3 separate regions of the Homo sapiens genome follow, and regions 1 and 2 are each linked to region 3. Evidence: promoter capture Hi-C in human tissues and cell types (Jung and others, 2019). All regions are on one chromosome and are shown on one strand. Each heading gives the region's core, a stretch centred on a gene start or on the middle of the fragment in contact. The rest is flanking DNA. Distances are from core to core; before and after follow the strand shown.

Region 1 (4,356 bases), core at 1,580-4,079, 340 kb before region 3:
AAAAAACCCACAAAAAAGTCTCATAATGTTTTAATAAAGTTTACAAATTTGTGTTGGGCCACATTCAAAGCTGTCCTGGGCTGTATGTGGCCTGTGGGCTGCGGGTTGGACAAACTTGGTTTAGATGGTCTAATAAATATCCTGATTTGGGATGTTGGTTATGCTTTGTTTTAAAGCAGTTTTATTGAGGTGTAATTGACATATAGTAAACTCCACATATCTAAAATATACAATTTGATAAATTTGGCATATATATATGCCAGTGAAGTGTATAGTTTGATACATTTTGACATCTATATATATATCCTGTCAAATCTTCACCACAATCAAGATAATGAATAATCTCTGTCATTTACAAAAGTTTCTTTGTGCCTTTTGTAATCCCTCTCTCTTCCCATACCACTCCCATCCCCAGGCAACAACTGATATGCTTTTTGTCACCATAGATGTGTTCACATTTTTAGAGATTTATATGAAATCATATTGTATGTGCACTTCTTTGTCTGTCTCCTTCATATAACTATATATATTTTTTTCGAGATGGAGTCTCGCTCTGTCGCCCAGGCTGGAGTGCAGTGGCGTGATCTTGGCTCACTGCAAGCTCTGCCTCTTGGGCTCACGCCATTCTCCTGCCTCAGCCTCCCGAGTAGCTGGGACTAGAGGCACCTGCCACCATGCCCGGCTAATTTTTTGTATTTTTGGTAGAGACGGGGTTTCACTGTGTTAGCCAGGATGGTCTCGATCTCCCGACCTCATGATCCTCCCGCCTCGGCTTCCCAAAGTGTTGGGATTACAGGCATGAGCCACTGCAGCCAGCCCATATAACTATTTTGACTGACATCCATGTTGTTGCTTTTTATCAACAGTTCATTCCTTTTTATTACTGAGCAGTATTTCATTGTATGGATATACCACTCTTGTTTATGTGTTCACCTGTTGATTGAGCATTTGAGTTGTTACTAGTTTTTGACTATCACAAATCTGCTTGAACATTTATGTACGAGTCTTTGTGCAGACTGTATATTTTTTCCTCTTGGGTGAATATGTAGGAATGAAATGGCTAGGTCATGTGGTAGATGTATATTTAATTTACTGTTTTCCTTAACATTTTTTTTTTCTTTTTTGGGGCTTTCCAAGCCTGCCAGACAAATTCTAAAAGAGCTCTAACCTTAACTTACTGTTTTCCACAGTGGTTGTATCATTTTACATTCCTACCAGCAGTTTATAAGAGTTCCAGTTCATCAGCATTTGGCATGGTCAAAATCTTCTAAATTTTAGCTATTTTAATAGATGTGTAGGTATCTCATTGTGGTTTTCATTTGCATTTTCCTAATGACTAATAATGTTGAACGTCTTTTCATGCGTATATTTGCCATCCATATATATAATCTTTGGTGAAGTGTTCAAATCTTTTGCCCATTTTTTCCTATTGGTTTGTATGTTTTGAGAGTTCTTCAGAAGTTCTGTATACAAGTACGTCATCAGATATATACTTTATAATATTTTCTCTCCATCTGTGGCTTGTCTCTTCAGAACAGGTTCTTAAATTTTGATGAAGTCCAATGTGTCAGCTTTTCCTTTTATAAAACGGAAATGTAATGAAATACTGCTCAGTAATAAAAAGGAATGAACTGTTGATAAAAAGCAACAACACGGATGTCACTCAAAATAGTTATATGAAGGAGACCGCCAAAGAAGTGGACATACAACATGATTTCATATAAATCTCTATGAATAGTGCCTTTGGTGGTGTATCTAAGAGACCTTTGCCTAATCCAGTGTCACAAAGATTTTCTCCTGTTTTCTTCTAGGTATTTTATAGTTTTGTTTTTTACATTTACATATTTGATACATTTTTATCTGTATTTTTATTTCAATAGTTTTGGGGGAACAGGTGGTGTTTGGTTGCATGCAAAAGTTCCTTCGTGGTGATTTCTGAGATTTTAGTGCATCCATCACCTGAGCAGTGTACACTATACTCAATGTGTAGTCTTTTATCCCTCACCCCACTCCCACCCTTCCCTTCTGAGTCCCTAAAGTTGATTACATCATTCTTATGCCTTTGTGCCCTCATAGCTAGCCCCCACTTATAAGTGAGAGCATATGATTTTTTTGTTTTCCATTCCTGAGTTACTTCACTTAGAATAATGGTCTCCAGCTCTATCCAGGTTGCTGTGAATGTCATTGTTTCATTCCTTTTTACGGCTGAGTAGTATTCCGTGGTGTGTGTGTATGTGTGTGTGTGTGCATATATATATATACCACATTTTCTTTGTCCACTCATTGGTTGATGGTCATTTAGGCTGGTTCCATATTTTTGCAGTTGTGAATTGTGCTGCTATAAACATGCATGTGCAAGTGCCTTTTTCATACAATGACTTCTTTTCCTCTGGTTAGATACCCAGTAGTGGGATTGCTGGATCAAATTGTTGTGCTACTTCTAGTTCTTTAAGGAGTCTCCATGGTGTTTTCCATAGTGATTGTATCAGTTTACATCCCCACCAGCAGTGTAAAAGTGTTCCCTTTTCACCACATCTATGCCAACACATATTATTTTTTTTATTTTTAAGTTATGGCCATTTTGGAGGAGTAAGGTGGTATTATTGCATCGTGGTTTTGATTTGCATTTCTCTGATAATTAGTGACGTTGAGCAGTTTTTTAATATGTTTGTTGGCCATTTGTATATCTTCTTTTGAGAATTGCCTGTTCATGTCCTTTGCCCACTTTTTGATGGGATTGTTTTTTTCCTTGCTGATTTATTTGCTTGATTTCCTTGCAGATTTTGGATATTAGTCCTTTGTTGAATGCATAGTTTGTACAAATTCTCTCCCACTCTGTGGGTTGTCCGTTTACTCTGCTTATTGTTTCTTTTGCTGTGCAGAAGCTTTTTGGTTTAATTAGGTCCCATCTATTTATCTTTGTTTATGTTGCATTTGCTTTTGGGTTCTTGATCATGAACTCTTTTCCTAAGCCAATGTCTAGAAGGGTTTTTCTGATGTTATCTTCTAGAATTTTTATGGTTTCATATCTTAGATTTAAATCTTTGATGCATCTTGAGTTGATTTTTGTAGAAGGTGAGAGTTGAGGATCCAGCTTTATTCTTCTACATGTGGCTTGCCAATTATCCCAGCATTTTTTGTTGAATAGGATGTCCTTTTCTACTTTATGTTTTTGTTTGCTTTGTTGAAGACAGTTGGCTGTATTTTGTTTTATTTCTGGGTTCCCTATTCTGTTACATTGGTCTACATGCCTGTTTTTATACCAGTACCATGCTGTTTTGGTAACTATAGCCTTGCAGTATAGTTCAAAGTCAGGTAATGTGATGCCTCAAGATTTGTTCTTTTTGCTTAGTCTTGCTTTGGCTATGTGGGCTCTTTTTTGGTTCCATACTAATTTTAGGATTGTTTCATTCTAGTTCTGTGAATAGGTATTTTGATGGGAATTACACTAAATTTGTAGATTGCTTTTGGCAGTATGATCATTTTCACAATATTGATTCTACCCATCCATGAGCATGAGATGTGTTTCCATTTGTTTGTGTCATCTGTGATTTCTTTCAGCAGTGTTTTGTTTTCCTTGTAGAGATCTTTCATGTCTTTGGTTAGGTATATTCCTAAGTATTTTTTTTTTTTTACAGCTGTTTTAGAAGGGGTTGAGTTCTTGATTTGATTCTCAGCTTGGTCATTGTTGGTGTACAGCAGGGCTACTGATTTGTGTACAATAATTTTGTATCCTGAAACTTTGCTAAATTGATTTACCAGTTCTAGGACTTTTTGGATTAGGCTTTAGGGTTTTCCAGGTCTATGATCATATCAGCAAACAGCAACAGTTTGACTTCCTTTTTACTGATTTGGATGCCCTTTATTTCTTTCTCTTGTCTGATTGCTCTGGCTAGGACTTCTAGCACTATGTCGAATAAATGTGGTGAAAGTGGGCATCCTCGTCTTTTTCCAGTTATCTGGGGGAATGCTTTCAACTTTTCCCCAATCACTATAATGTTGGCTGTGGGTTTGTCGTAGATGGCTTTTATTGCCTTGAGGTTTGTCCCTTTTATGCTGATTTTGTTGAGGTTTTTAATCATAAAGGGATGCTGGATCTTGTCAAATGCTATTTCTGTGTCTATTGAGATAATCATGTGATTTTTGTTTTTAATTCTGTTTATGTGATATATCACATTTATTGACTTGCATATATTAAACCATCCCTGCATCCCTGCTATAAAACCCACTTGATCATGGTGGATTATCTTTTTGATATGCTGTTTGATTCAGTTAACTAGTATTTTGTTGAGGATTTTTGCATCCGTGTTCATCAGGGATATTGGTCTGTAGTTTTCTTTTTTTTTTTATGTCCTT
Region 2 (4,442 bases), core at 993-3,492, 280 kb before region 3:
CTCCACCCAGTTTGAGATTCTTGGCCGCTTTGTTTACCTACTCAAGCCTCAGCAATGGCAGTCACCCCTCCCCCCAGCCTCACTGCCACCTTGTAGTTAGATCTCAGACTGCTGTGCTAGTAATGAGTGAGGCTCTGTGGGCATGGGACCCTCTGAGCCAGGCACGAGATATATTTTCCTGGTGTGCTGTTTGCTAAGACCATTGGAAAAGTGCACTATTAGGGTGGTAGTGACCCAATTTTCCAGGTGCTGTCTGTCATGGCTTCCCTTGGCTAGGAAAGTGAGTTCCCTTACCCCTTGCACTTCCCAGGGGAGGTGATGCCTCACCCTGCCTTGGCTCTTGCTTGGTGGGCTGCACCCACTGTCCTGCACCCACTGTCTGACACACCCCAGTGAGATGAACCTGGTACCTCAGTTGGAAATACAGAAATCACCTGTCTTCTGCGTCACTCATGCTGGGAGCTGTAGACTGGAGCTGTTCCTATTCGGCCATCTTGGAACCACTATGTGGTCGATTTTAGAATAAGTGCTATGTGGTGCTGAGAAGAATGTATATTCTGTTTATTTGAGGTGGAGAGTTCTGTAGATGTTTATTAGGCCCACCTGGTTCAGAGCTGAGTTCAAGTGCTGAATATCCTTGTTAATTTTCTGTCTCATTGGTCTGTCTAATATTGACAGTGGGGTATTAAAGTCTCCCACTATTATTGTGTGGGAGTCTAAGTCTCTTTGTAGGTCTCTAAGAACTTGCTTTATGAATCTGCGTGCTCCTGTATTATAAAGTCTGTTTTATCAGAGACTAGGATTGTAAACTCTGTTTTTTTTTCTTTCCATTTGCTTGGTAAATATTTCTCCATCCCTTTATTTTGAGCATAAGTGTGTCTTTGCACTTGAGATGGGTCTCCTGAATACAGCACACTGATGAGTCTTGACTCTTCATCCAGTTTGCCCATCTGTGCCTATTAATTGGGGCATTTAGCCCACTTACCTTTAATGCTAATATTGTTATGTGTGAATTTGATCCTGTCATTATGGTGCTAGCAGGTTATTTTCCCCATTAGTTGATGCGGTTTCTTCATAGTGTCGATGGTCTTTACATTTTGGTTTGTTTTTGCAGTGGCTGGTACCACTTTTTCCTTTCCATATTTAGTGCTTCCTTCAGGAGCTCTTTAAGGCACACCTGATGGTGACAAAATCCCTCAGCACTTGCTTGTTTGTAAAGGATTTTATTTCTCCTTCACTTATGAAGCTTAGTTGGCTGGATATGAAATTCTGGGTTAAAAATTTTTTCTTTAATAATGTTGAATATTAGCCCCCACTCTCTTCTGGCTTGTAGGGTTTCTGCTGAGAGATCTGCTGTTAGTCTGATGGGCTTCCCTTTGTGGGTAACCTGACTTTTCTCTCTGGCTGCCCTTAACATTTTTTCCTTCATTTCAACCTTGGTGAATATGATGATTATGTTTCTTGGGGTTGCTCTTCTCCAGGAGTATCTTTGTGGTGTTCTCTCTATTTCCTGAAGTTGAATGTTGGCCTGCCTTGCTACGTTGGGGAAGTTCTCCTGGATAATGTCCTGAAGAGTGTTTTCTAACTTGGTTCCATTCTCCCATCACTTTCAGGTACACCAATCAAACATAGATTTGGTCTTCATATAGTCTCATGTTTATTGGAGGCTTTATTTGTTTCTTTTCACCCTTGTTTCTCTAGTCTTGTCTTCTCACTTTATTTCATTAATTTGATCTTCAATCACTGATATCCTTACTTCCACTTGATCTAATCGGCTATTGAAGCTTGTGTATGCTTCATGAAGGTCTCATACTGTGGTTCTCAGCTCCATCAGGCCATTTAAGCTCTTCTCCTTACTGGTATTCTAGTTAGCCATTCGTCTAACCTTTTTTCAAAGTTTAGTTTCCTTGCAATGGGTTAGAACATGCTCCTTTAGCTCAGAGAAGTTTGTTATTACCGACCTTCTGATGACTACTTTTGTCAATTTGTCAAACTCATTCTCCATCCAGTTTTATTCCCTTGCTGTTGAGGAGTTGTGTTCCTTTGGAGGAGAAGAGGTATTTTGGTTTTGGAATTTTCAGCCTTTCTGCTCTGGTTTCTCCCCATTTTTGTGGTTTTTGTCTACGTTTGGTCTTTGATGTTGGTGACCTATGGATGGGGTTTTGTTGTGGATGTCCTTTTTGTTGATGTTGATGCTATTCCTTTCTGTTTGTTAGTTTTCCTTCTAACAGTCAGGCCCCTCATCTGCAGGTCTGTTGGAGTTTGCTGGAGGTCCACTCCAGACCCTGGAGTATTACCAGGTTTGCCTGGGTATTTCCAGTGGAGGTTGCAGAACAGCAAATATTGCTGCCTGATCCTTTCTCTGGAAGCTTTGTCCCAGAGGGACACCTGCCTGTATGAGGTGTCTGTCGGCCCCTACTGTGAGGTGTCTCCCCATCAGGAATCATGGGGTCATGGACCCACTTGAGGAGGCAGTCTGTCCATTATCAGAGCTTGAACTCTGTGCTGTGAGAACCACTGCTCTTTTCAGAGCTGTTAGGCAGGGAGGTTTAAGTCTGCAGAAGCTGTCTCCTGCCTTTTGTTCAGATATGCCCTGCCCCTAGAGGTGGAATCTAGAGAGGCAGTAGGCCTTGCTGAGCTGTGGTGGGCTCCGCCCAGTTTGAAGTTCCCTGTTGCTTTGTTTAGACTGTGGGCATAGAACTGCCTACTCAAGCCTCAGTAGTAGTGGATGCCCCTCCCCCTGCCAAGCTCCAACATCCCAGGTTGATCTCAGACTGCTGCATTAGCAGCGAGCAAGGCTCCATGGGTGTGGGACCTGTCTAGTCAGGCTTGGGAGGGAATCTCCTGGTCTGCTGGTTGTGATGACCCTGGGAAAAGTGCAGTATTTGGGCAGGAGTGTACCATTCCTCCAGGTACAGTCACTCCCAGCTTTCCTTGGCTAGGAAAGGGAAATCCCCCAACCCCTTGCACTTCCTGGGTGAGGTGATGCCCTGCCCTGCTTTGGCTCACCCTCCATGGGCTGCACCCACTGTCCAACCAGTCCCAATGAGATGAACCAGGTACCTCAGTTGGAAATGCAGAAATCACCCATCTTCTGCATCGATCTCACTGGGAGCTGTAGACTGGAGCTGTTCCTATTAGGCCATCTTGGAAGTGACCTATCTCAAACTTTTAACCGTTTCTTTCCAGAAGAAAAATTTGAAACATTAAGGGAAAACAGTTGGGTAAAATATCCATTTGCTTTTCAAAACCCTGAATCAATAATTGAGCTAAACTTGGTGCCTGAAGAAGAGAATGAATTATTGCAGTTTAGTTCTTCATATACATTAAAGAATGATTATGAGACCTTAAGCTTATCAGCATTTTGGAATAAGGTAAAGGAAGACTTTCCATTGTTAAATAGAAAGAGTGTCCTGCTATTACTACCATTCACAACAACTAGTTTGTGTGAACTAGGGTTTTCTATCTTAACCCAGTTAAAAACAAAGGAAAGAAATGGCTGAATGGTGTAGCAGCTATGCAGGTAGCATTATCTTCCTATGTTCCAGACTGGAATGAACTTAGGAACAGGCAAGCACACCCATCATAATAAATAAAATCTTACCTAAAAAAAGATGTACAAATGGCTAATAGGTATATGAAAATCTGCTCAACATCACCTATTACAAGGGAAGTGCAAATCACTTGAATGGGAGAAAATATTTGCAAAGTGCTCATCCAAAGGGGACTAATATGTATTCTATACAAGAATAACAATTCAACTATAGAAAACCAAACAATCCCACTAAAAATGAACAATATTTTTCAAAAGAAGACTTACAAAAGACCAATAGTATATGAAAAATGCTCAACACTAATTATCAGGGATTGTAAATAAAAACCACAATGAGATATTATCTCACCACAGAATGTTTATTATTGACAGATGCACACACTCACACAGACACACACACACCCAGATGCTGGTGAGGTTGCAGAGAAAAGGGTACTCTTAGACATGGTGGGAATGTAAATTAGTGCAACCATTATGGAAAGCAGTATAGATATTTCTCAGAAAAACTAAATCTAGAACTACTACATGATGCAGCAATCTCACTACAGGGTATCTATCCAAAAGAAAAGAAATTATTTTCTCAAAGGGATACATTTGACTCACAGGTTTATCACAATGCTATTCCCAATAGAACAGATATGGAATCAACCTAAGTGTTCATCAATGGCTGATTGGACAAGAAAAATGGTGTGTGTGTGTGAGTGTGTGTGTGCACATGCATGCATGTACATGTATGTGTTTATATGTACTATTTGTTTTCTGGATACACACCTACACCCACACCCATAGGTACCCATACCTGCACAAATACCCATACACATATATACACATACACTATTCAGCCATTAAAAAGAGTGGAATCCTTTTCCAGCAACATGGATGGAAATGG
Region 3 (4,717 bases), core at 451-2,950:
ACTAGTGTCCTTATAAGAAGAGGAAGGAACACCAGGTGTGCACATGCATAAATGAAAGAATATGTGAGGACATGACGAGAAGGCAGCTATTGACAAACCAAAGAGAGAGGCTCAGAGGAAATCAAATCTGTTGACACCTTGATCTTAGACTTTCAGCCTTCAGAACTGTGAGAAAATAAACTTCTGTAAAGTCACCTTCTGTTAAGTCTGTGGTATTTTGTTATGCAGCCCTAGTGAACTAAAACATTTCTAACAATTTACAACAAAACCCTGTGATGTATTAGATTTCCTGTTTGGAATAGATCCATGAAAGTCATTTCCTGAACAGAGAATCTCTGCAGGCTGGACAGGAATCTGCTTTTTTTTTTTTTTTTTTTTTTTTTTTTTTTTTTTTTTGAGACAGAGTCTTGCTGTGTCACCCAGGCTGGAGTGCAGTGGCACAATCTCAGCTCACTGCAACCTTCACTCCCAGGTTCAAGTGGCTCTCCTGCCTCAGCCTCCTGAGTAGCTGGGATTATGGGTGTGAGCCACTGCACCCATCCAGGAATCTGCATCTTAAGATGTTTCACGGGTGACCAGTTTGAAATTCAAAAATAAGAACTTCTTGTAGGCAGAATAAATTCTGGAGATTCTGTTTGTTTCTTTGGGTTTCTTTTTAATCAACCTGTCTTTTCCCATTATATCCGTGCATGCTATTTAGCTGCTAGCTTTTGAATATCCTTGTAGGTACACAATTATGCCACACCTTTAACTGTAATTGTGTACTTATTATTCCCTCATTTAAAAATTGACTCTTGCAGTCCCTCATCCACTGCTTCATTATCTCAAGAATCTTCCCACAAGAGTAGGTCAAGCTGGCTGGGCATGGTGGCTCATGCCTGTAATCCCAGCACTTTCAGAGGCTGAGGTGGGCAGATCACATGAGGTCAGGAGTTTGAGGCCAGCCTGGCCAATATGATGAAACCCCTTCTCCATAAAAAATACAAAAATTAGCTGGGCATGTGGGTGAATGCCTGTAATCCCAGCTACTTGGGAGGCTGAGACATGAGAATTGATTGAACCCAGGAGGTCAAGGCTGCAGAGAGCCAAGATCCCACCGCTGCACTCCAGCCTGGTGACAGAGTGATACTTTGTCTCAAAAAAAAAAAGAGTAGGTAAAGTTAATTTGTAGAGGGATGACTCCCCTGCTCCATGGCATCTATCCAGGTATCATTAAACAGTTTCTCCTTAATCTTCCATAGCACACTGTGTATCTTCCTTATAGTTATATGATGACATTACAGTACAATTATTTACAAACCTATCATTTATATGAGACATTGAGCTCAAATTTTATTTTAAACTTATAAATAAATATATGTAAGTTAACATTGCTTTATTTACAGCAATAGCACCAGAAAGCCCAAAATGATATTTGAATGAATCAATAAATCTGGTGAAATATACTACTATAATACATAAAAGCACTATTTCCTTTCTCTTTGTTTCTTATCCTAATTTCCCTATTTTAAAAAATCTTTAAAGCCCTGTCATTGGTATGACTTGAACTGAAGCAGAACTACACTTAGCAAAAGTCAATGTTTAAACTCAACATTCCACTTTCCTTTAACTAAGAATAGTTTTTATTAACTTTTAGTAAAACTCAGTCCTAGTCCAAAAAAAGCCCTGCTCTCTGATCTTTGTACAAGAACATCATAAAGCAATTCACTTTGGATTTTCTAATATCCCATTTCTAAGAAGAATGGCAGACTATTGAACAGGTGTATTTTAGGTCACGTGGGGACTGCATCCACCTGAAAATCCACCGTTGACTTATCAGGAAACTCAGAGATCAGGATCTTTCACAGAGTAGTCTTTTAAGAAGATTCAGTTGTCAACAGCTAGCAGTCTCTTTGCCAAATAATTATATCTGTGACTTCTGAAACTATTTGGCTGCCTAAAGTTAAAGGACTTGGGGAAAGTCCTTCCACTGCTCTTCTGCAGTAGTGTCACACCACTCAGTGCAGGGCCCACCAAGAAGAAAGCAGTGTCAGGATCCACATGGCACTATGGTAACTTTGTGAAAGGGGACATTTTCTCCCTCTGAACTTCTCTTCATAAAGTCATTGTGCTTCCTCTTGGGGATCACCTGTTCAGTCTCAATGGGCTTTGATGTGCTCCTGGATCAAGTGGGTGGCATGGGGAGATTCCAGATTTGTCTGATAGCTTTCTTTTGCATCACCAACATCCTACTGTTCCCTAATATTGTGTTGGAGAACTTCACTGCATTCACCCCTAGTCATCGCTGCTGGGTCCCCCTCCTGGACAATGACACTGTGTCTGACAATGATACCGGGACCCTCAGCAAGGATGACCTCCTGAGAATCTCCATCCCACTGGACTCAAACCTGAGGCCACAGAAGTGTCAGCGCTTTATCCATCCCCAGTGGCAGCTCCTTCACCTGAACGGGACCTTCCCCAACACAAATGAGCCAGACACGGAGCCCTGTGTGGATGGCTGGGTGTACGACAGAAGCTCTTTCCTCTCCACCATCGTGACTGAGGTAAGAGGCCCCATGTAAATCTTCTGTTTATATGATTAAAGTGTTTGGAGTTAACACAAAAAAATTGACTTGCTTTATACCTTTAGTCCTTAGATGGGACCTGCAGTCAGCTCATTCTTCATTCCTTTAGCAGGTGGCAGCACCTGATTATCTATTAATACTCTACGATACAGCCAAGTGTATTAGTATTATATTGGTGTAAAAGTAAATTGTGGTATTAGACCATGAATTTTAAATCATTATAACTAGGCTCAAACACATCTTTATTAATCAAAATAGGAACCATTACAATCAACACATTTTTGGCAATGAGAAATAAGTTTGTTAATTCTGTAACATAAATATCCACGCTTTGGGATTTGACAAATTTTTCTGCATTCTGCTGGTTGTGAAAGTGTTTCTCCTACAAAATGTTGTTGAGATACTTAGTTTTGGTTGTTTTTGTTTTTTGCTTTTTGTTTTTTGAGGGAGGCCAGAGTTTTATTACTACTCAAATTAGTCTCCCTGAGCATTCGGGGAGCAGAGTTTTTAAGGATAACTTGGTGGTTGGGGGGCAGCCAGTGAGCCAAGAGTGCTGACTGATCAGGGCTGAAATCATAGGGAGTCAAAGCTGCCTTCTTGTGCTGAGTCACTTCCTAAGTGGGGGTCACAAGATCAGATGAGCCAGTTTATCGATCTGGGTGGTGACAGCTGATCCATCAAGTGCGGGATCTGCAAAATATCTCAAGCACTGATCTTAGGAGCAGTTTAGGGAGGGTCAGAATCTTGTAGCCTCCAGCTGTGTGACTACTAAATGATAATTTCTAATCCTGTGGCTAACGTTAATCTAGTCCCCAGGCAAGAAGGAGGTCTGCTTTGGGAAAGGCTGTCTTTGTTCAAACTATAAACTACAAACTAAGTTTCTCCCAAAGTTAGTTCAGCCTATGCCCAGGAATGCACAAGGACAGCTTGGAGGTCAGAAGCAAGATGGAGTCGGTTAAGTTAGATCTCTTTCACGGTCTCAGTCATAATTTTGCAAAGGCAGTTTCAATCCCTCCCTTTGGGTTTTATAACACCTTAATCTTAAGATGTAGGCTATGAAGACGGGAAAAGGCCATCTATCACTCCAGCTTCTTCCTGCTGACAGGGGACATAATGGGAATGGGAGTGAACCCCAAGGTGAGAAGAGTGGAACTGCTTTGCTACTGAGTGTATTCATGCAGGCCTGGATGGGCTTCCAAGGCTTGTGTGGCAAAAATATTAGTACTCTCATCTATAGTTTTAGTACAGTATTTAAATGAAGAGCATGCTATAAGGTAAATAATGAGTCCTAGGATGAGGAGTACAATTCCCAATTTTAAAAGCAAAGATTGGAAAGCATTTGTCTGGGGCCTTCTAACTCACAAATAATTTAGAATTTAGTCTAACCTGCAGAAAAAAAAACATCAAGAACAGCTAACAAAAGTGTAATATAGTTTTTCTTTTGAAGCATAATTTTTCTCTCTCCAGTCCCTATTTTTATTAAAAACAAATTATGATAGAACTGACTTACAGTTTACAAAACAAACTTTAGTTTCACTGTACTTGGCCTGATTATTTGCATAAAGTGCAGCAAGAATAATTATTTTTCACTTAGGCTTTTTTAATTGGCTTTGATGAAACTCTGTTCCATGAAGAATCTCAGATAAGGCTTTTTAAAAGCCGAGCCCAGCCATGGGTTTGAACCCTCAGATACCTATGAGTTGAACAAAGTCCTCTCCTCAAGATAACTTGGGGTTCCTGGGCCTGTTAGAAAGTGACATTCTTTACTTAACACAGGTCAGGAACCTTGTACAGGGACTCTGTCTGGACAAGGTATGAGGCCAGATTCCCCAGTGGGTTTTAATTGGTTCCATAAGTCAACTTTGATTCTTTACAAGAAGCATGCCATTCCAGTCAAAGCCTTGGAAAAATGACCAGTTTCTCCAATTGTATCCTTTACTCCGATGGAGGGGGGTTAGCTTTCCAAACAAAACCCAACGAAGATAGCATGAGGCCAACTAAATCTGTCTCCTCCCTCTCCTCCTTTTATTTCCTGCCGTTTACCCAAAGGAGAAAACAAAACCCTTTCATTATCTTTTAACATTACATAAAAATTGTCTTCAAAAGAGAAAACCAAATTTCATGTTTGCATTAGTGCATCTTTAATGTTAAAG

The links. The method cuts DNA at HindIII sites, captures the fragments that hold promoters and counts their contacts. A contact is called where the count stands out against the background at its distance.
Region 1: a contact is called between a fragment that was not itself captured here and the fragment with the promoter of SLC22A24 in region 3, in 1 of the 25 tissues and cell types used here (mesendoderm cells).
Region 2: a fragment that was not itself captured here is called in contact with the fragment with the promoter of SLC22A24 in region 3 in 4 of the 25 tissues and cell types used here (H1 embryonic stem cells, hippocampus, liver and 1 more).

The regions. Positions count from the first base shown.
Region 1 is chr11:63,484,326-63,488,681 of GRCh38, reverse strand. The region is part of intron 3 of PLAAT5 (phospholipase A and acyltransferase 5); the gene reads left to right. It also overlaps the pseudogene LOC124902822. Among named protein-coding and RNA genes, the nearest start is that of PLAAT5, 4.7 kb to the left of the region's middle. The HindIII fragment of the contact is 8,832 bases long and covers 1-4,356 here.
Region 2 is chr11:63,426,503-63,430,944 of GRCh38, reverse strand. No RefSeq gene overlaps it. Among named protein-coding and RNA genes, the nearest start is that of SLC22A9, 59 kb to the right of the region's middle. The HindIII fragment of the contact is 3,761 bases long and covers 362-4,122 here.
Region 3 is chr11:63,141,204-63,145,920 of GRCh38, reverse strand. It overlaps SLC22A24 (solute carrier family 22 member 24), which reads left to right and starts at 1,700. Exons shown (of 10, transcript NM_001136506.2): 1 at 1,700-2,543. The coding sequence starts at 2,142. The HindIII fragment of the contact is 8,571 bases long and covers 1-4,717 here.